Regions from separate parts of the Homo sapiens genome. Here regions 1, 2, 3, 4, 6 and 7 are each linked to region 5. The links are contacts of gene promoters, found by promoter capture Hi-C in blood cells and fetal thymus (Javierre and others, 2016). All regions are on one chromosome and are shown on one strand. The core of a region is centred on a gene start or on the middle of the fragment in contact, and the rest is flanking DNA. Distances in the headings are between cores, read along the strand shown. Region 1 overlaps NSA2 (NSA2 ribosome biogenesis factor). Region 2 overlaps LOC441087 (a long non-coding RNA gene). Region 3 overlaps ANKDD1B (ankyrin repeat and death domain containing 1B). Region 4 overlaps POC5 (POC5 centriolar protein). Region 5 holds the start of ANKRD31 (ankyrin repeat domain 31). Region 6 overlaps POC5 (POC5 centriolar protein). Region 7 overlaps GFM2 (GTP dependent ribosome recycling factor mitochondrial 2).

Region 1 (2,700 bases), core at 29-2,528, 460 kb after region 5:
TTATCTGCTAAAATCTAATTGTAAGAAAGGCTTACCTTCTGTCATCAAGTGATTGTATCATCCTGGATCGTCATTTCCAAGGAACTAGCCTTTCTTTTCCTAAGCGTCTGTATGTGTTCTAAAACTTCCAGTATATATTTATAGAACTTAGAAAAAATGTTACATTATTCAGAGTAGCAAGTCTTACTGGAGTACCTATGTTTGTTTTCTTGGTTTTTATTTTTTTTTAAGTTTAAAAGTAGTAATTAAACCTATATTTTGTGATTGTTTCCTGGTCTGTGTTTTTAAATTCCTTTCCTTCAGTTTTCCTCATGAAGATGTTTCAGATACTGAATTTGTTTAGACATTGAATGACTTTGTTAAAGGCACAATTAATCACATTGGTTGTACTCTGAAGACAGACTTCTTTAAAAAAAAAATAAACAATTTAAAACAATGTGGTGATTATAGATTAATGTAATATACGCCATCCTTAAAACCACAACATATAACAGATCACAAAAGTGCTTTCACCAAGTTACAACCGTAAATCCTTACCTTTTTACATCATCTAAGTAACTGCAAATAAATTTCTCCTCAGGGAATCAGTGCAGTCTTCTTTTTCCTTTTAAAACTTAGCTGGAGTTACTTAAACTAATTCTTAATACTATTCTGAAAGTATAAATATATTGTTTAGAATACAGAAAATGCTAAGAGAGTACAAAGACTTTAGTATATTTTTTTCATTTTCATGATTCAAGTAGAAAATAGTGCCAAGTAGGTATTATTATACATGGTAAATGAGATGAAAAAAATGTTTAGAATGTGAATTCACTAGACCTTTGCTGTACTGGATTTCACAGGTGAAAAGATTTCTCTAAGATTTCTGAACTTTTAGTGTCTTCTCACATACTTCTAGTGTAAACAAACACTATAAACTTAACATCTGTATTAATGCTACCTACCTTTTTTAGGATTAATGATTAACGAGATTTTGAAGATACTTCAGTTAAATTCTCAGACACATAATTGTGTATTAACCTTTTTGAAAGGCATTTTCAATGAACACTGGTGGTTTTTTCAGGAAATTGCTGAATACCCACTCACAAATGCAGATATTGATGAAGTAGGATATTTGTATATTTGCTTTTTTTCAATCATTCAGTTTTATGAACATGGGGTCAAAGCGTATTTCAAAATAAAGACCATTTATAAAACTGGACCACTTTAATGTTTACAATTTAATAAATCTCTTCATTGCAGACATGTATGGCTGTTTGGTAGTATTCAGAAACATCACAGTAATGGCAGTTTCTTCAATTGGTGTGTAGTCCTCAATAATTATATATGAAATTGCTGTCAAACCAGTAAGACTGCATTTATACATCCATCATTTTCAGGATTGTTGGTAACCTGGGCATATTTTCCTAAGGAAAACAAAACCAAAAAAGGGAAAAGGGAGGGTTGTTAGCTAATAAAAATTAATTTTAAAGAATATAACTTTTGCCTTTTTTTTCTTTTTGTCTTAATACAGGGTTTCACTCTTATTCCCCAGGCTGCAGTGTGGTGGCGTGATCTGGCTCACTGCAACCTCTGCCTCCTGGGCTCAAGCGATTCTCCTCACTCAGTCTTCCGGGTAGCTGGGACCACAGGCACACGCCACTGCCTGGCTAATTTTTTTGTTTTTGTATTTTGTAGAGATGTGGTTTTGCCATGTTGCCCAGGCTGGGCTCGAACTCCTGAGCTCAAATGATCCGCCTGCCTTGGCCTCCCAAAGTGCTGTGATTATAGGTGTGAGCCACTGCGCCCAGCCATGCCTAAAATATTTCTAATTACCACTTTCAATAAATAAGAAATGAACCATAAAGGATAAATGAGATTTTACAAAATTCAATCATTTAAGGACAAATTTGAGTTCTGAATACAATTTTCATACAAATAGTGTTTTTGCAAATAATGGCCAGCTCCATGTTATTAGTACATTGCATTAACAGGCTTTTGTGGATTGACCTGAGCATTGTCACTTTTTCACATAATTCTTCCTGGAAAATGTATCAAGTTTCAAATGAGTTTCAAGTCAAGGTAACAACATATTTTAAAACTGAGGTCAGCTGACATGAAGTATAAACCAATGACTGAAGAAGTTGTAGCGTGTATTCTTCCCTTTCAAAGAAATTGGATCTGGGTACTAAAGGTAGAAAACTAAGCAAATGAGGGCGTTTAAAATTACTGCATGACACATTTCTGTTTTAATTATTACTGATCTAGTGTGATTATATGTTGTATGCCTCCCTCGGCTCATGGTTAATTTATTCTATTTTTTTTTTACAATTTTTTTTAGTTATAACTTTGCATCTGCTTCCCTTGTAATAAAGAATTTTTATTAAAAAAGATCAAAATATTTTTATTTTACTTATTTTTGAGATGGAGGCTTGCTCTGTCTCCCAGGCCGGAGTGCAGTGGCATGATCTCAGCTCACTGCAAGCTCCAGGTTCATGTGATTCTCCTGCCTCAGCCTCCCGAGTAGCTGGAATTACAGGCACCCACAACCACACCTGGCTAATTGTTTTGTATTTTTAGTAGAGACGGCGTTTTGTCATGTTGGCCAGGCTGGTCTCCAACTCCAGTCTCAAGTGAACCGCCTGCCTCGGCCTCCCCAAGTGCTGGGATTATAGGTGTCAGCCACTGCGCCCAGATAGCGAGGGGGCTTTTTAAAGCCTG
Region 2 (2,738 bases), core at 90-2,589, 490 kb before region 5:
TGCTACTTAGAAGAGGAGGTGAAAAGCTAAGCTTCAGTGGGGTGTATTTGCTGGCAACTGAAACGAATAGAGGGAACCGGAATGAAGAGAGGTTGAGACTTGAAAAGCCCAGAACCCTGGAGACTTCCAACGTGCACAGCTGTCAGAACTGGACTCTACAATCAGAAGTCTGGAAAAGTGTCTTTGGGGTTTAAGTAGGAAATTGACTTCAACCTCCAGGGAACCAGCTATGAAGCTTGGAGTGTCTAGAGCAAAGTTACAGAGAGGCCTGATTGTGATAGGGTGAACAATGCTGAAGCTTAGAGCCACAGAGAATACTGCTCTTGCTAGAAGCTAGGACCCTAATTGACCTAGGGCAAAGCGGCCCTGTGGCCAGAAGCATCAATATCACACGGGAACTTGTTTGAAATGCACATTCTTGGGCCCAACTTCAAACCTGCTTAATCAGAAACTCCCAAAGTGAAGCCCAGCAACCCATGTCCTAGTAAACTGTCAAGGTGAGGAAAGAAAAAAAAAGGTTGATCTGAGGAATGTAAGCCTTTTCAAATTATTAGGCCCAGAGAGGCATTGAAATGAGACAGCAATCACACCCTACTCCCTTCTTTGAGCTATGTATTCAACTCTTGAAACTGCTTGCTACTGCCACAAGTTGCTATAAATTAACCTAATGCCACACCGGACACTATAAACAACACCCTATAGTTTAACAACGTCTAGCCAATCACCAGTCAATGTTATTTCTGTAAACCAATGAGAATTCCTGACAGATGACTTTGTATCAGCCCACTCCCTGCCCCCTCTTTCTGCCTTTAAAAATCTACTTGTAACTGCTATTATCTGGAATGTATATTCAGGACAACTTGAATCTATGCTTCCAGGTTGCAATCCTCAAACTTGGCCCAAATTAACTCTCTACTTATATTAATTTTGCTTAAGCTTCTTCCTTTTAGGTCAACACAGGTTAGTTTGATGCACACTAGGGAACACAGGAGACCCAAGCAATGTTGGGTGAGGGGAAGTTTACATAGGGGAGGAAAATGGAATGAAACATATGGGGGTAAGAATAACCCATTCCTGCAAGGTAGAAACTGAAAGGACATTCTCAAAGGGACCATCTCTCAGACCTATCCATAAAACTAACTTGTATCAACTCCAGGCTACAGTAAGACTAGTTTGGCACATACACCAGACATATAAGCTGATTCGCAAACTAAAAACTGGAGTCAGTATCTACCACCTCAGAAGAGAACTCAGGAAATTGAAAATGATTAATAATTACTATGAGGGTTTTTGACACTTCAGGAACTTTTGTAACTTATACAAACGGATTGGTTTTTATACTCCAATCTATTTATCATAATTTATTTATGTTTTTTAAAAAATCTTTCAATGAAGAGACAGTCTATTCTTTATTAGGAGCAAACGAAAAAACAGGGAGTCTGGGGAAAGAACATCCTAATATATGAACAGTCTCAGAAAACGAAGAATTCTAAATAAGAGTGATGGGCAGATATTTTTAGAAGAAAGCAAGCTAATTCTATGAAGACTCAAGACAGGAAAGGGACTTCCTTCTAAAAGATCATTCAACAGAAGGCTGTGCTTCTGCAACATAAAATAGTACATTTCTTCATCAAAGTTAAACATAAACATTTATATAAAATAGCACATTTCTTCATCAGAGTTCACCATAAAGGTTTACAAATAAAAATGGACAAATGGATCACATCAAGTTAAAAAGCTTCTGCACAGCAAAGGAAATAATCAACAAAGTGAAGAGACAACCCACAGAATGGTAGGAAATATTTGCAAATTACCCCTCTGACAAGGGATTAATAACCAGAATATATAAGGAGCTCAAACAACTCTATGGGAAAAAAATCTAATAATCTAATCAAAAATAGGCAAAATATTTTAATAGACATCTCTCAAAAGAAGACATGCAGATAGCAAACGGGTATATGAAAAGGTGCTCAACATCACTCATCATCAGAGAAATGCAAATCAAAACCACAAAGATATCATCTCACTCCAGTTAAAATGGCTTATATCCAGAAGATAGACAATAACAAATGCTGGTGAGGATGTGGAGAAAAGGAAGCCTTGTACACTATTAGTGGGAATGTATATTAGTACAACTACTATGGAGAAGAGTTTGGAAGTTCTTCAAAAAAACTAAAACTAGAGCTACCATATGATCCAGCAATCCCACTGCTGGGTATATACCCCAAATAAAGGAAATCAGTATATCAAAGATATATCTGCACTCCCATGTTTGTTGCAGCACTGCTTACAATAGCTGAGATTTGGAAGCAATCTAAATGTCCATCAACAGATGAATGGATAAGGGAAATGTGGTACATATACACAATGAAGTACTATTCAGCCATGAAAAGGAATGAGATCCTATCATTTGAACAAAATGGATGGAACTGGAGATCATTATGCTAAGTGAAATAAGCCAGGCACAGAAAGACAAACATTGCATGTTCTCAATTATCTGTGGGATCTAAAAATCAAAACAATTGAACTCATGGGCATAGAGAATAGAAGGATGATTAGCAGAGGCTGGGAAGGGTATTGAGGAGCTGGCAAGGGAGATGGGGACAGTTAATGGGTACAAAAAAATAGAAAGAATGAATAAGACCTACTATTTGATAGCATAACAGGGTGACTGTGGTCAACAATAACTTAATTGTACATTTAAAAATAACTAGAGTGTAATTGGATTGTTTGTAACA
Region 3 (2,700 bases), core at 1-2,500, 430 kb before region 5:
TAAACTTTCTGAATGACTGTTTGCTTGCCTGTTCCTCTTCGAAAAAAGCCCTTCCAGTTGCCCTCGCTGTGCTGCTTTATGATGACCAGCATTTGCTTTCCCTCCAGCCTGTGCTATGCACCTGCTATGCTTGGCACACACCCAAAGGAGTGTACAAGAGAGAGGACAGCTGTGGTGCCTGCCCAGGGGGAACAATTTTAATGAAATATGCAACTTCTCATAGACCAGTGCTCTTCAAACTCACAGTGCTTATTTCACCTGGGTATCTTACTAAAATGCAAGTTTGGATTCAGTAGGTCTGGGGTAAGAATCCATGCATCTAACAAACTCCCGGGTGCTGCTGCCACTGCTGCTCCATATTCCCCACTCTGAGCAGCAAGCATGCACCATTCATTCTGCCACTCCAGTCTCAAGGAAGCTACTCTGAGGGAAGTTTGCATCCCTGGGCCAGGATTATTCATTTGATAAATACTCACTGCATATCTCAGCCTAGAGAGGTGTTGGGGGAAGTACCGGGATAGGGAGCCACAAAGCCTCTGTGGTTCCCAACAGGACTTCACTACAGGCTCCTTGCTCTGAGAGAGAGTGTGCAGGAGCAGACATGCTGTGCAAGGGAAGGGCCTGAGCTCTGCAGGGGTGAGGGAGAAGTTCACTGGACAGACTGATATGGAGAAGCGGGCATTTCAGGGAGAGGGAACTGCATACTTACAGAATGTACTCCTGGACAAGTCCTCTGTTCCTTTCCTAATCTTGCTCTTGACAAACTAATTTTTCTTAAATACCATCATGAGTCTGTCACTCCTTTGATCAAAAGCCCACAAACTCCCCAGTGCCAGTAACCTTACCCTGGATCACAATATAATTGAATTGCAAGTGTCATTGTTATTGTGCCAACTAGATTATAAACTCCATCAAACATGCATGGCTTAGAGAGCTGATGTATCTATCCCTCATCCAGCAGAAATAAACACTCCAGGCCCTCCATAAAGGTTCCATCGAAACACTTTAAAATCCCCCTTATCCTGCTGGCAAGTACTCTGAAGATACACTATATTTTCAAGTCATCTCTTTAGGTCAAGTTAGAGTTCCAGGAGGCAACTCAATTTTCCTAAAGACTTCACAGAACACTATAAGCCTAATTAATGACAAAAAAGAAATCTTAACAATAAAAAAATTTTTCTAGTTAGAAACTAGTTAGTATTCAATGTTTTCAATACATTATCTTCTATTTTTCACATGAAAATGTATCCTAAGAATGTGCAATACAAAGTCTCATAATTTACTTGTATGTGGTATAAATAGTGTGTGCTCATGGACTGTGCTTCTGCCATCCCCAGTTCCCAGCAATCCCTAATACAAATAGACCCCTGAGCAAGGACACCTTCTCGTCTTAGGATGTCCATGAGAGGGCAGTGCTCTGAATAGAAAACTTTGCCAAGAAACATGTTTGCTTCATTGTTTTCAAAGCTAATTAGTTGATTAATGCCAAGTAAACTTTCTATGTTTCCTAGGTTTTCGTCTAACCACAAAAAACAAAATTAAGGAATCTAGCTGACCTGACTTCACTAATTATGACAGTTTGAGTCCAGCTGAAATGATTCCATTGCTTGGAATCATCTAGCCAAGAAAGCCCTCTGAGTCTGTATTTGCCGTGTCGCTCATGGCACAGCCAAGTCTCCCCTAAGGCAGTGTCCTACAACAACCCTTTCTCCTACACCCACCTGCTTTAAGGAATTCCTCTTTCTGGAGCGCAGACTTAAACAGCGAGCCTATTGATTACAGAATGAACCCATTCACCCCAGGACAGTCTCAAGGAACATAGAAATCAGATTGGCTTCCCACTGACACACCAACTGTTAAATCCTTGCTTGCTTCCTTAGTGACCGTCCAGTTGGGAATCTTACTGTCTCTCTAGGCTAAATGCACATGTCTGATATGGGTCAATACACATAATCATCCTTTACAAACTTCGGTTTACTGCAGACCATGAGTGTTCACTTTCTGCAAATCTTAATGCCCAAATCACTGGTGTGGACCTAAGCTAACTGCCCCTATTCCTGGGCCCCTTGAAGACTGCAGCTTATTGTGAGTGCCACACACTTCCTTGGAAGACCTCACACCAGGAGGCACTGCTGTTCCTAACAGTGAATTCCTCCTGCCCACATCATCTAGTCTGTACTCACCCGACCACTGCTCCTCAATGGCTCTAATCTGGTCATCTGTAAAGTTCCACGAACGGGCCAGCCTCTGCCACTCATTGGCCTTCAGCTGATGGTAAGCCAGGTCCCAGAGAAGCGTGCGAATGTGTCTGGTCTCCAGACTGTGATCTTGCTTGAATGTCAGAGTAAAGCCTGTTGACGGGTCCCTGATGCTCTCATGATGCTCCTAAAGTGAAAATAATTGTATCAGAAGATTTCAGACATGTTCTACTTATTACCTTATTTCAGAGTATATATGTTTTTCAAACATAACTAGTAAGGTGGTAACCGAGACTATGTTTTCAATGCCTCCTGTCACTGGATCATATATATATTTTTTTTTTTTGCCATCCAAAATGGAAATAAATGCTTGAAATTAAAAGCTTGGGTACCGTCTGTCTGACACAGGAAATGTGAGGGATTTTGCCTATTGTGTCCCATGCTGCTTAGAACAGAGAATGAGAACAGAGAGGCTGTCTTGGCAAAGGATGTGTCACAACAA
Region 4 (2,700 bases), core at 142-2,641, 450 kb before region 5:
CTGAGCGAAGGAGATAATATAAACCTTCCTTACCTGCTTCCTAGGGGCTTCTTGTGGGATGCAGTAAAACATATCTGAAAACACTTTAAAAGACAAAATGCACTTTAACGTGTAAGATGATAGTCATGATGTAATTATTAATAGTTTTAATTCAAGTCAACGTCTCAAGATTTTGTAAATGATTAACATGATTTCAATCCAATGAATAACTTCTCTGTGCTTGTGATGCCCTTATTTTAAAACATCAACAAACATTTATTATTTAAAGCATGCATATTGTGGATAGGAGTAAGTTTAGGCAAATTGCTTTCTATCTGAAGTGGTTGTGGTTTGTGGGCCATATTTAATTTAGAAACTGAGAATCATGGAATCTCAAGGCTGAATAGTTTATTTTGGTAATACCTAGGTGAGTACTTGATTTTTCCAATAAATGGTCTTTTATTTGAGTATCAGGGTTGAAAACAAACTCACCACCTTCAATGATAGAATAGTCTGTTTCAGTTCTAAGTATCAGCAAGTTGTGTGTCACAAATTGAGAAATTTAATTGTTTACTTGGGAGAAATATGAGTTTCACAAGTAAAGTGACAAATTCCTATTAGAACTTCTTACATTAAATTACAAGAAACCTGTTTCTTATAACCTACTTAAAAAGATTTTGAATTGACTTAGGAGTATTTCCCACCTTAATACATTTACCATCTTAAAATGTAAATTGAAATGCAACTGTGTCTCCTAAAGGCCAATATCCATAAGAGGATTTGAAGAAAATGTCTTCTGCTAATTACACAACATGATTTCTTTTGCTCCTGTTACTTTTGAAACAATCGATGAGAAAGATGACAAGAATGGTAAAGCATGCATTAGCAATAATGTTGGTAGAGCTACCAAAGGCAAAAAAGTTCAGTATAATTCAGTGGATCTGCTTTGTGATATTTAGGTTTTATGACATTTTAATGACACCTATTTTTTTTAGTTCTCATAAGAAAAAAAAATTACTTTTGGCCCCCTTCTATTAAAACAACTGTTTTTTATAGGCCAGGCGCGGTCGCTCACACCTGTAATCCCAGCACTTTGGGAGGCCGAGGTGAGTGGATCACGAGGTCAGGAGATCGAGACGATCCTGGCTAACATGGTGAAATCCCGTCTCTACTAAAAATACAAAAAATTAGCCGGGCGTGGTGGCAGGCACCTGTAGTCCCAGCTACTCAGGAGGCTGAGGCAGAAGAATGGCGTGAACCCAGGAGGCAGAGGTTGCAGTGAGCTGAGATCATGCCACTGCACTTCAGCCTGGGCGACAGAGCGAGACTATCTCACAAAAAAAAAAATTGTTTTTTATAATGCAGTTTTTAATAATGTAAAGTTCCTAATGCATCTGTCTTGTTAGAGCAAAATAAATATTTGGTTTTTTATTTGTACCGATTCTTTGCTGTCTGTAATTTGCAGTACCTCTCATGTTGTGCAGTATCTTAAATCTTACAAATTAGAGGTTTTTATGAAGAAGTTAGAACATGACAAAAAGTCCTTAAAATTATATCTGCCAATTTTACTGTGCCAATTAGGCACAGTAAAAAAAAATACTTGACAAGTGAAAAATTTATTCCAGCTAAAATGAGATTAATTATTAAACTTAAGAGTTATCTGATATCAGCCTATATTAGCAAGAGTTGATCACCTGCCTCTCTTCCCTGACCTTCATACTGTTTCTACATCTCCTAATGTCTGCCACCATCTAAAGATAGACACTCAGAATCTCTACCAAAACAAGTTAAAACTCAGTGTGTGTTTTGTTTTCAAATTAAAAGTATTTTATATTGAATTAGTCCCTTTCATCAGAGGAGTTCAAAGGATCTAGGTAGGCACTGTAATCATTGTTAAACTTCTTAAATAAGCTAACTAACTAATACTCTGCAAATTTTCTATACAGATAGTCTAAGGAAAGGACTTATGCAGAGGCCCAAATTTCTGGAGGGAAAGAGAACTACATAGAAAACCATTTAAACATACAACTTACATAATGCCCTCTGTTCAGATGTTCTGAAACAGCTCATTGACTGAATTTCTAAACCCTCACCACACTGTTTGATACCACACAGATACAGTCTTAAGCAGAAACTAACCAAATTATAATACTGGAGCGAAAACATCTAAAATTGGAAGAAACCCTTTGTACTAGCCCTGGAATTTGACATTATTGGCTCCTTAGATCAAGATTAAGGTTCAGTTTTGAGGGAAGGTTAGTGATTGGGGTGTCACTACAAATCAGTTAGGTGCACAAATATGCTCTTATGATTTATATAATTTATCTGCAAGAACCCATTTCTTTTACAGTGTAAAAAGTGAAGATTTTAGTTTTATTGATTTATTTTTGTTTTCTGACGACTCAAGAACAAAAATAAATTGTTAGGATAGGCGCAATACATGAAAATGAGGGAGTATAGTGATATCAGAAAGTGGTTCTAAAGATTGATTGCAGGTCATTTTGGCCATCTATCAGGATATTTGTATGAACTAATACAAAGGAACCTAGATCTCCAGGCTCACTGTGATCATATTTTTTGTGACAGTTGTGATGGCAATATACTCTACTTAGCTAAGGTCCCAGCTGAGTACATAATTTATTTTCATCTTTTATTTAAGAACAAATGATCCATTAGCTTTCACATGTGGAAGGAAGTAGTCTGAAGTTTTTAGTGGTTAAT
Region 5 (2,700 bases), core at 93-2,592:
CTCAGGCTGGAGTGCGTTTGCTCAATCATAGCTCATTATAACCTCAAACTCCTGGGCTCAAGCGATCCTCCCGCCTCAACCTGAGTAGCTGGGACTACAGGCCCATGCTACCATGCCCTGCTAATTAAAAACAAATTTTTTGCAGAGATAGGGGTCTCACCATGTTGCCCAGGCTGGTCTTGAACTTCTGGTCTCAAGCAATCCTCCTGCCTCGGCCTCCAATGCATTGAGGTTACAGGTAGAGCCACCACCCCCAGCCTCAAGTTAAGTTTAGAAGATAATCACCAATCAAGCATTTTAAATAGCAGTGGCTTGAATATACATAGTAAAAACACAAAATAATAATAATGATAATAATGGCAAAGCTACTCCATATAGTGAAAAGGGCAATGAATTGGGAAGTCAGAAATCTCTAGCTCCATCCATTTATGACAAAACTTAGACTTTATATGTGCTAGATGCTGGAGACTCCAAGGTGAATACTAAACACTTGCTATGGGAAAACAACTTGGTCTTTTCTTGAATCTTCTTCTCACTTGGCAAGTGGAAGCTCACTTGGCTTTGTTTTGAATTAGTTTGAATTAAAAATGTTCAACTAGACTGAAACACATCAAATATATAAAATTCTAGTACTTCATTAAAACGCAATTGACTACTTTTGGAGGTTGCTAGGCATTACTATTATTATAAAAATTGATAAAAGAGGAAAAAATAAAGCATTTATCCTGCCTTTCCTGCATAATCTGTATTTCAGGTAACCAAAGCGTTGTTGAGAGAAAAAAAAAATGCAAAATACATCACTGAGATTAGTTGATGAGCTAAAACTTCTGATAAACGTATCTGTTTTGTCTACCTCAGAGGACACTTGAGGAGAGGCTGTCAAGGGATTAAAGGGAAAGGAAGCACTTGGTGGGCTGCAAAAACTCTCTTTAGGTCTAAGGTCGCATTCTGGCTCCAGAATGCCAGGGCTGCTGGGGCGGGCAGGAGCTGACAGCTCTTCCCGTATCTGGGGCTCACAAGCATCAGGTGCATGGCAGGTCACCCTCCCGGCCAAGGGTGTTAAGCAGGCTCGGTCTGAGTTCTGGGTGCGCCACGCCTGCCTTTCTGGTCTCTGCAGCAGCAACCCCAGCACCCTCAAAGCCTAGCGACCGAGAATGAGAAACCGTGAAAAAAACACGCAGCGGCAGGCCACGCCCAGAGTAGGCCTGCGCGCGCGCGCGCGGCCTCCCACTTCCGGCCACGGGAGCTGGGGGCGGGGCCGAGCGCTGCGCAGGGCTCCGTCGTGTGGCGAGCGGCTGCCCCCTGTCTGCGACGAGCGGCGGGACCCGCGGGCCGCCTCGCAGACTGCTACCCCGCCGCGCTCGCGGCCGCCTGCGTCCTCCTCAGCAGCCCTGCGACAAGTCCCGGCTCCTGCTGCGATTATATTATTTTTATTTTTAATTCACAATTTCCCCTGGCCCTCAAAGCGTTTTTTTGTTTGCGGGCAAGAGGGAGTTAGAGGAGGGTAAAAAAGACTTTGAATGTGAGGCAAAGATGGAGGAAGGCGTCCAGGCCCCAGACTGGGACAGTGATGAAACTGTGATAGAGGGTTCAGTGACGGAGAGCGACCTGGAAGAAAAGGAGCTGCCCTGGAGAAGGTGACCATCATTAGGGCCACAGTGCCTGAACCCTCGCGCCAGGGCGGCCCAGGTGCCCTCTGAGGGGGTCAGAGTTTTGAGTGGAGATCGTGACCAGAACATGTGCTTGTGGGCAGGATCAGAGCCTTGTGGGGCAGCCGTGCCTGAGCTGAGAGCTTGTAAATAAGCAAACACAGTCTGTTCCCACCTACCCCCAACCAGCTAGGGATAAAATGAGGTTTGTACTAGGTGGCTTTATAGCATTTTTCAAAAGGCTTTCCTTTTGGGGGCTTTAAGTCTTTTTGCACAAGCAAAAAAGATCTTGGGTCTGAACTTAACTGCATTTTGTTTCAGGAGACTTCATTTTGCTTCAAGAGACTCGTAGCTCAGTTCTAGGAAAATGGGTAACAGTTTCTCTCAAGAAAAGAATGTGTGATGGGGAAACTGGTCCCTGCCAAACTGGAAACGAATAGTTTTATACGAATCCAAAAAAGTCGGTATTTCAGGTTATCGAAACCTTTCTCTAACATATTCTCTGTGCTAGACACAGGGAAAAGAGGGCAGGGATGAGGCCACTAGGTCTGCTTCATATGTGCTCAGGGCTGTGTCTGGGACTTAAGTTGGATCGTACACAGAATTAGGTCATTCTCCTTTCCCTCTCTCTCTTCTCCAGGATTCTCCTGCCCCCTTTCCTCATCATACCCACTTGCCAGTTCATATGATCAGAAAGACAGGTTTCTTTGAGTGTTAGCCTTTTCACTATACAGCAGTTCCTTACAAGGGGGACAGCCTTTAGCACAGAGTTAAGAAAAGAGAGAAAAAAGGGGGATTCTGTCCACACTTTTCAGGCAATACCGATCCCTTTTCCCAGTTCCTCTGGTAGACACTTTCTCTTGAGTTTTATGTTCCCCAGTTGCCATGGTTGGTGTCTGCTCTGAGGCTAGGGCCAGCCTTGGGGCAGGGCTGGGAGGTGAGAGAGAAAGCAACATAAAGCCCTGGGCTTTGTCCTATACCTTCTGGCATGCAGGGGTCATTTTCCTTGGTCTTCTGGATAAAAATAGGTTTACTGTCTGTGCCCACTGGA
Region 6 (2,700 bases), core at 164-2,663, 470 kb before region 5:
GGCTGGGGTGCAGTGGTGCCATCTTGTCTTACTGCAGCTTCCAGTTCCTAGGCTTAAGTGGTCCTCCTGCCTCAGCCTCCTGAGTAGCTACAACTACAGGCACACACCACCACACCTAGCAAATTTTTGTAAAAAATTTATTGTAGAGATGAGGTCTCACTTTGTTGCTCAGGCTTCAAGCCATCCTCCTGCCTCAGCCTCTCAAAGTGCTGAGTTTACAGGCATGAGTCACTGCACCCAGCCCTCTTCAAACTGTTAATCATAAATATAAAAATCACACAAGAAGCACTCGAGGAACTCAAGCTTGGAATAAGTGGTAAAACTTTGTAATATAATAAGCATGGGACTCTATTATGGTAATTAAATTTCTTTAAAACAAATTCAGTTGAATATATTATAACATTGTAACTGTTACACTACATTATTGATTATTGGCCTCTCTTAGGAAGAATATGAAGAACTGCTTCATTATGCTATAGTGACTCCAAATATTGAACCCTGTGCTTCACAGTCATCTCATCCTAAGGGAGAATTGGTGCCAGATGTCAGAATTTCTACAATTCATGATATTCTTCATAGTCAAGGTTATATATATTTTTCAAGATATCTCTTAATTTAAAATATTACTGAGTTTATTAATGATACTGACAGGATTGTGAAAATGCCTGTCCAGATCAGTGATTCTTCTCAACCATTTATGTGTATTAGTATCATCTAGGGGAGCTTTTTACATTTTAATATATTATTCCTGACTCTCGTGTGACAGCTTGATTTTTCTTTGAACTTCATTTGACTCTTACTTTTATGAAGAATAATAAAGTTGAAGCAATGCTATGGCAACTGCATGGCTTTTTGGTATGTTGTATCTCAGTACTTGTTCCAACAGTTTTATGCCAGGATTAACCTGAAAACTAAATGCCCAAGACTAAAATTAAAGATGGTAACCCTGAGAGTCTCTTAAATTACTTTACAAACCTCATGCTAGTGCTTTATCAGCAGTATTTATATGGGCATGGAGGACTGTTTGAATAATTATCACAAGGTGAACCCATCTGTGGACCATGTCAGCAACAGAACTGAAAGCTACTATAAACCAGGATGTGTGTTGATAGATGAGTGAAAAGTGGAGAAAAGAGGATAAAGCTCCTTTTACCTCCATTCCTTATTCAGGTGAAGACAACATCCCAAACTCTAAATAAATGTTCTTTCAAAGGGCACAGAAAGCCTTCCTAAAACAGTCCTGATAAGGACCAGTTATCACACTATAGGCGTAACTCCAAGGATCCCTGTCCTTGAAGGCGCATGACATAGCCTACTCAGAGGCCAAAGGCTCCTGGGCTTCTGCTAAGTCATAGCTCTAGTGTCTGTTGTCTCTCATTCTCTGTAGACGTGGATTTTTCACTGTTCCTCTGTCTTTGGCCTGTTGCAGTGGAACAACAAACAGGACCACAGGATGAGAGCCTTAAAATACAGGCCAGGCAGTGGCTCATGCTTGTAATGCCAGTACTTTCAGAGGCTGAGGCAGGAGGATTGCTTGAGCCCAGGAGGTTGAGACAAGCCTAGGCAACATAGCAAAACCCTAGCTCTACAAAAAAATTAGCCGGGCAGAGCAGCCTATAGTCCCAGCACCTTGGGAGGCTGGGGTGGGAGGATTGCATGAGCTCAGGAGTTCAAGGCTGCAGTGTGCCATGATTATGCCACTGCACTTCAGCCTAGGCAACAGAGCAAGACTCTGTTTAAAAAAAAAAAAAGAAAAAACTTTCGAGATGCTGTAGTCAACAGTTCAAGGTAATCATCTGGGATTTAAGACCATTGTTCTTTTCTCTTATGTAAGATAGCATTTATTTATTCTCTGCCATTTCCAAAAAGGATTTGAGATTAAAACATACGTTATATAGTAAGTTTAGATATCCTTTAGTCATCTTGATTCACAAGTAGACTTTGTTAAAGTCTTCTATGTAAATTCATCATCCCACATTCTCTTTATTCTTGGTATCTCAGTTGCTTGATAGAAGGCATGGTATGTGGAAATTGGCAAAGTATGTGTAAGCCTCTAACAGTCATTCTTGAGAGGTTTTTCCCAGTTTCCTTTTTGCCATCTGTTGACTACAGGTTCCTGAAGTGGAAGCAAATGTTTTGGGGGAGCCAGTGCCACTTGAGTTTGATTGTGGCTAGTGAAAAGCAGCGGGCCTCTGGAAATACCCAGTGTCATAAGAGAGCAGATCCTTTTCTAAGTTCTAATGTCATTCACCCACTTATTCTCTTAGTGTGAATTGAATGCTATAGTAGACTACATTATCTCTCATCTATATTTGGTGCATAAGTTGGAGCTTATCAATGATATAGTAAGTCTTTTTCTAGTCTCAGATTTTTATCTGTTCTTGTCCTTTGTTTTAGTGTTCCTATATCCCCAGCATGTTGTATTTTGTTTGTTCTAAAATATTATGTACTGCTACCTTCTTAAATTATGTGTGATTAGACATTTTATTTAAGAGTGGTTCAGTTTAATTTTAAAAAGCTTTCTTTTTGGCAGGAAATAACTCTGAAGTAAGAGAAACTGCAATAGAAGTTGGAAAAGGATGTGATTTCCATATTTCAAGTCATTCAAAGACAGATGGTATGATTTTTCTTTAGCTTATTTGTATTAATATACAACATTTTGTGGTTTGATGAATATTATCTATGTAGTAAGAGGAATAA
Region 7 (2,700 bases), core at 79-2,578, 480 kb after region 5:
GGCTCTGTAACCATTTTTTACTTCTTGGCTATTTCCTTGAGATTATTAGGGGCGGGAGTGTTCAGATAGGTGCCAGAAGGAAATACTAGTAGAGTTGTGCTCCTTATCTGAGGAACACGCTGATGAACTGAGCAAAGGAAAGGTTGGTGGCTTTAGTAGCTAGTTTGCAAGTTTAACATGTGAGTGTAATTGTAGAGTGCTCTTGTGAATTTCTTTTTCTAGTTTATTTCTGTTTTTTATGCAAGTGTTTTCTGTCAAGAGAGATTTACTAGAATAATTTATTTTGAGGATTGTTATAAGTAGTTTGGCTAAGTATTTGGGATTGTTTAGGTTAGATACATGGCATCAGAAGCTGGAAGGTGGAGGAGTTGACTTACTTTTGAATGTCCTTTCTGTGTTTGAAACAAGCAAGTGTATGGTAGACTCTATGAAACTAGTTTAATTCTGTTGCTGTTCTCATTACTGTGTTTGTCATGTGAGAATAATAGAATAAAAATACTGATTGGCTGTTGACTTACAAGGGCAGATTAATTTAATGGGCTACGTTATTGGTGTGTATCTAGGTCTCTGAATTTGGCTAATATGAATTTAACTGTAGTAGTATAGATTATCTTTTGATCTTCAAACCACCATGAAGTTTCAAAAATAATATAAAATTCTCCTTTTTGTATTATAGAAACATGGGAGAAATGGTTTAAATAACAGGAAGGCTTTAATTAAATTTACAAATGTAACTGCCTTGTTTCTTTAGAAATTACTTCTTAATATTAGTAAACTATATATTAAGCATAGAATAAGCCATATGGACTTTTTTATTTAAGAAATACTGCTTGGCCTTTCAAAAGTATTAAATTGTTATAGCTTCTATTCAGTGAAACCTCCCAGGCAGTCTTTAAAGGTATTGTGTCCTGGGATTGCTGAGGAAGGCAAGTTCCAAATTGTATAATAATTCATTATCAGCTGACATGAGGATCACTCTTAGCTCTTCAAACCCTGGAAAAGGCAGGTTTATAGGACTGTGCATTTAAAATTTTTTCTTTGATTCAGGATCATTGCCTTAAGATTATTATTATGAGCATTTATTCTAGTTCTACAATTTTGTAAATGGAAGTGAAGTAGGTGGCAGAGATTGGGGTGAATCTGTATTTTTCTGAGGATATGATCTAGAACTTGATGTTTAAAACTTTTACCTTGTTTTATTGTCATCCATAGCTTTCCTTATACATTGCAAGGAAATAAATTTTAGTTTATTTTAGATTTATTTAGCTTGAATTTTACTTTATTTGGACTTACAGTATTTGCTTAAAGTTATTTTAAAGTCTTTCATTTATAAATTAAAGGAAAATTTCATAAATGTAACAGTTCAATTTTAACTTTCTTTTCATTAGGCTTAATAGGAAATGATATCAAATCCCTTCATTCCATCATCAATCCTCCCATAGCTAAGTAAGTACTATCATTATATCATGCTTTTCCATAGACTGTCACGAAAATTTACAGGTTTTTTCTGATGGACAAGAGTGAATGCTGTAATTTCTATGACTTTCTGCCCTAGCCAATTTTAAGTAGATGTTGATAATGTATCTTAGCTATTTTTTCTCAATTAATGCTAAAAATTTTTAATGTAACAACAGCACACTTTTCTAGAATGAATATAAGATAGTCTCAAAATTGTAGGTTGTAGTTAGCCCTTTTGTTACTTAGCTATCTTATCAGAGTAATGTGGATATACTCTAAATGTTTTCCATTTTTCTAGTTTTTACACAGTTTTATAAATTATAGAAATACCAGCTTTGAAATTTGGATAGCATATATACTTTGGTTTTACAATTTTAGTAAAGTTTACCTTATTTTTTCCTTTTAAACAGAATCCGTAATATTGGAATTATGGCTCATATTGATGCAGGCAAAACTACCACCACAGAAAGAATATTGTACTATTCCGGATATACAAGATCACTGGGAGGTTAGAATGGATTCCTCCTCTTCCCACCCCCCCATTAGCAAAAGCATCATTGGAAAATATTTTGGTTAACAAGTCAACTTACACACCTTGAATATGGCATAGAGCTACTGATGTCTAATCCACAATTTAAAGATAAGATAGTTGCAATACCCACCAAAGGGTCTTCTTAGATTCAACTAAATATTCAGACTTGTAAGACTATCATAGGCCCCACTGGACACTCGTCTACTCAGAATGCTACAGGACAGGAACCACAGCTTACCAACAGACCAGCATTAGGTGTTTCTTTCTAGTAGAGTCCTTATAGCAGTCCCCGTAGCTATCTGGGAGCTATCTTCTTTGGCTGCTCCAGAGTAATGGATTAGATGCAAGGTGACAAGATTCATAGGAGCCACCCTAGCTTAGAAGATTCATGCCCCATAGGAATGAATGTCTCTTGTTATAACTTCATAGGCATAGCTTCCAGGTGTCACCTAAGGTACATGCCATACACAGGGAAGCCCAGAGTTCGGTATCTCCATAAGGTACTTATATATATAATTCATTTATAGTTCTTCGCAATTCAGATTTAGTTTACCAATCAGAAGTTGTTTTTTCCATAAGTTATATTGCCTAGGAATGTAGTTGACATACCTCTGTTATCTGGTTTCTAGAAGAAAAGAACCAAAAAAAGTAACCAGAAGTTAAATTCTCACATCAAAGAGGATTTTGTTAATCCTTAACCAAGTTATCTT

Evidence for each region. Contacts are between HindIII fragments. The CHiCAGO score rates a contact against its expected background, and 5 or more counts as called.
Region 1: a contact is called between a fragment that was not itself captured here and the fragment with the promoter of ANKRD31 in region 5, in 1 of 17 cell types (total CD8 T cells). The highest score is 5.5, in total CD8 T cells.
Region 2: a contact is called between a fragment that was not itself captured here and the fragment with the promoter of ANKRD31 in region 5, in 1 of 17 cell types (naive B cells). The highest score is 5.7, in naive B cells.
Region 3: a fragment that was not itself captured here is called in contact with the fragment with the promoter of ANKRD31 in region 5 in 5 of 17 cell types (total B cells, neutrophils, naive B cells and 2 more); the score reaches 9.4 in total B cells.
Region 4: a contact is called between a fragment that was not itself captured here and the fragment with the promoter of ANKRD31 in region 5, in 3 of 17 cell types (neutrophils, naive B cells and total B cells). The highest score is 9.1, in neutrophils.
Region 6: a contact is called between a fragment that was not itself captured here and the fragment with the promoter of ANKRD31 in region 5, in 3 of 17 cell types (neutrophils, total B cells and naive B cells). The highest score is 7.6, in neutrophils.
Region 7: a contact is called between a fragment that was not itself captured here and the fragment with the promoter of ANKRD31 in region 5, in 2 of 17 cell types (naive CD4 T cells and naive CD8 T cells). The highest score is 6.0, in naive CD4 T cells.

Annotation. Positions count from the first base shown.
Region 1 is chr5:74,775,310-74,778,009 of GRCh38, reverse strand. NSA2 (NSA2 ribosome biogenesis factor) reads right to left here. Exons shown (of 6, transcript NM_014886.6): 6 at 1-1,406. The coding sequence ends at 1,339. FAM169A (family with sequence similarity 169 member A) reads left to right here. Exons shown (of 13, transcript NM_001376049.1): 13 at 1-436. Among named protein-coding and RNA genes, the nearest start is that of NSA2, 9.4 kb to the right of the region's middle. The HindIII fragment of the contact is 2,857 bases long and covers 1-2,700 here.
Region 2 is chr5:75,726,071-75,728,808 of GRCh38, reverse strand. All of the region lies in intron 2 of LOC441087 (a long non-coding RNA gene), which reads right to left. Among named protein-coding and RNA genes, the nearest start is that of POC5, 10 kb to the right of the region's middle. The HindIII fragment of the contact is 802 bases long and covers 939-1,740 here.
Region 3 is chr5:75,666,477-75,669,176 of GRCh38, reverse strand. ANKDD1B (ankyrin repeat and death domain containing 1B) reads right to left here. Exons shown (of 14, transcript NM_001276713.2): 12 at 2,184-2,385. Among named protein-coding and RNA genes, the nearest start is that of POC5, 50 kb to the left of the region's middle. RefSeq lists an enhancer at 1,697-2,198. The HindIII fragment of the contact is 2,666 bases long and covers 1-2,583 here.
Region 4 is chr5:75,685,664-75,688,363 of GRCh38, reverse strand. All of the region lies in intron 9 of POC5 (POC5 centriolar protein), which reads left to right. Among named protein-coding and RNA genes, the nearest start is that of POC5, 30 kb to the left of the region's middle. The HindIII fragment of the contact is 4,211 bases long and covers 1-2,700 here.
Region 5 is chr5:75,235,520-75,238,219 of GRCh38, reverse strand. ANKRD31 (ankyrin repeat domain 31) reads left to right here and starts at 1,342. Exons shown (of 26, transcript NM_001372053.1): 1 at 1,342-1,637. The coding sequence starts at 1,534. It overlaps LOC124901006 (a long non-coding RNA gene), which reads right to left and starts at 1,182. Exons shown (of 2, transcript XR_007058823.1): 1 at 854-1,182. RefSeq lists a silencer at 1,102-1,401 and an enhancer at 1,452-1,621. The HindIII fragment of the contact is 5,895 bases long and covers 1-2,700 here.
Region 6 is chr5:75,705,621-75,708,320 of GRCh38, reverse strand. POC5 (POC5 centriolar protein) reads left to right here. Exons shown (of 12, transcript NM_001099271.2): 3 at 446-584; 4 at 2,534-2,617. Among named protein-coding and RNA genes, the nearest start is that of POC5, 10 kb to the left of the region's middle. The HindIII fragment of the contact is 2,215 bases long and covers 306-2,520 here.
Region 7 is chr5:74,758,115-74,760,814 of GRCh38, reverse strand. It overlaps GFM2 (GTP dependent ribosome recycling factor mitochondrial 2), which reads left to right. Exons shown (of 21, transcript NM_032380.5): 4 at 1,389-1,446; 5 at 1,869-1,966. Among named protein-coding and RNA genes, the nearest start is that of GFM2, 7.7 kb to the left of the region's middle. The HindIII fragment of the contact is 4,143 bases long and covers 1-2,700 here.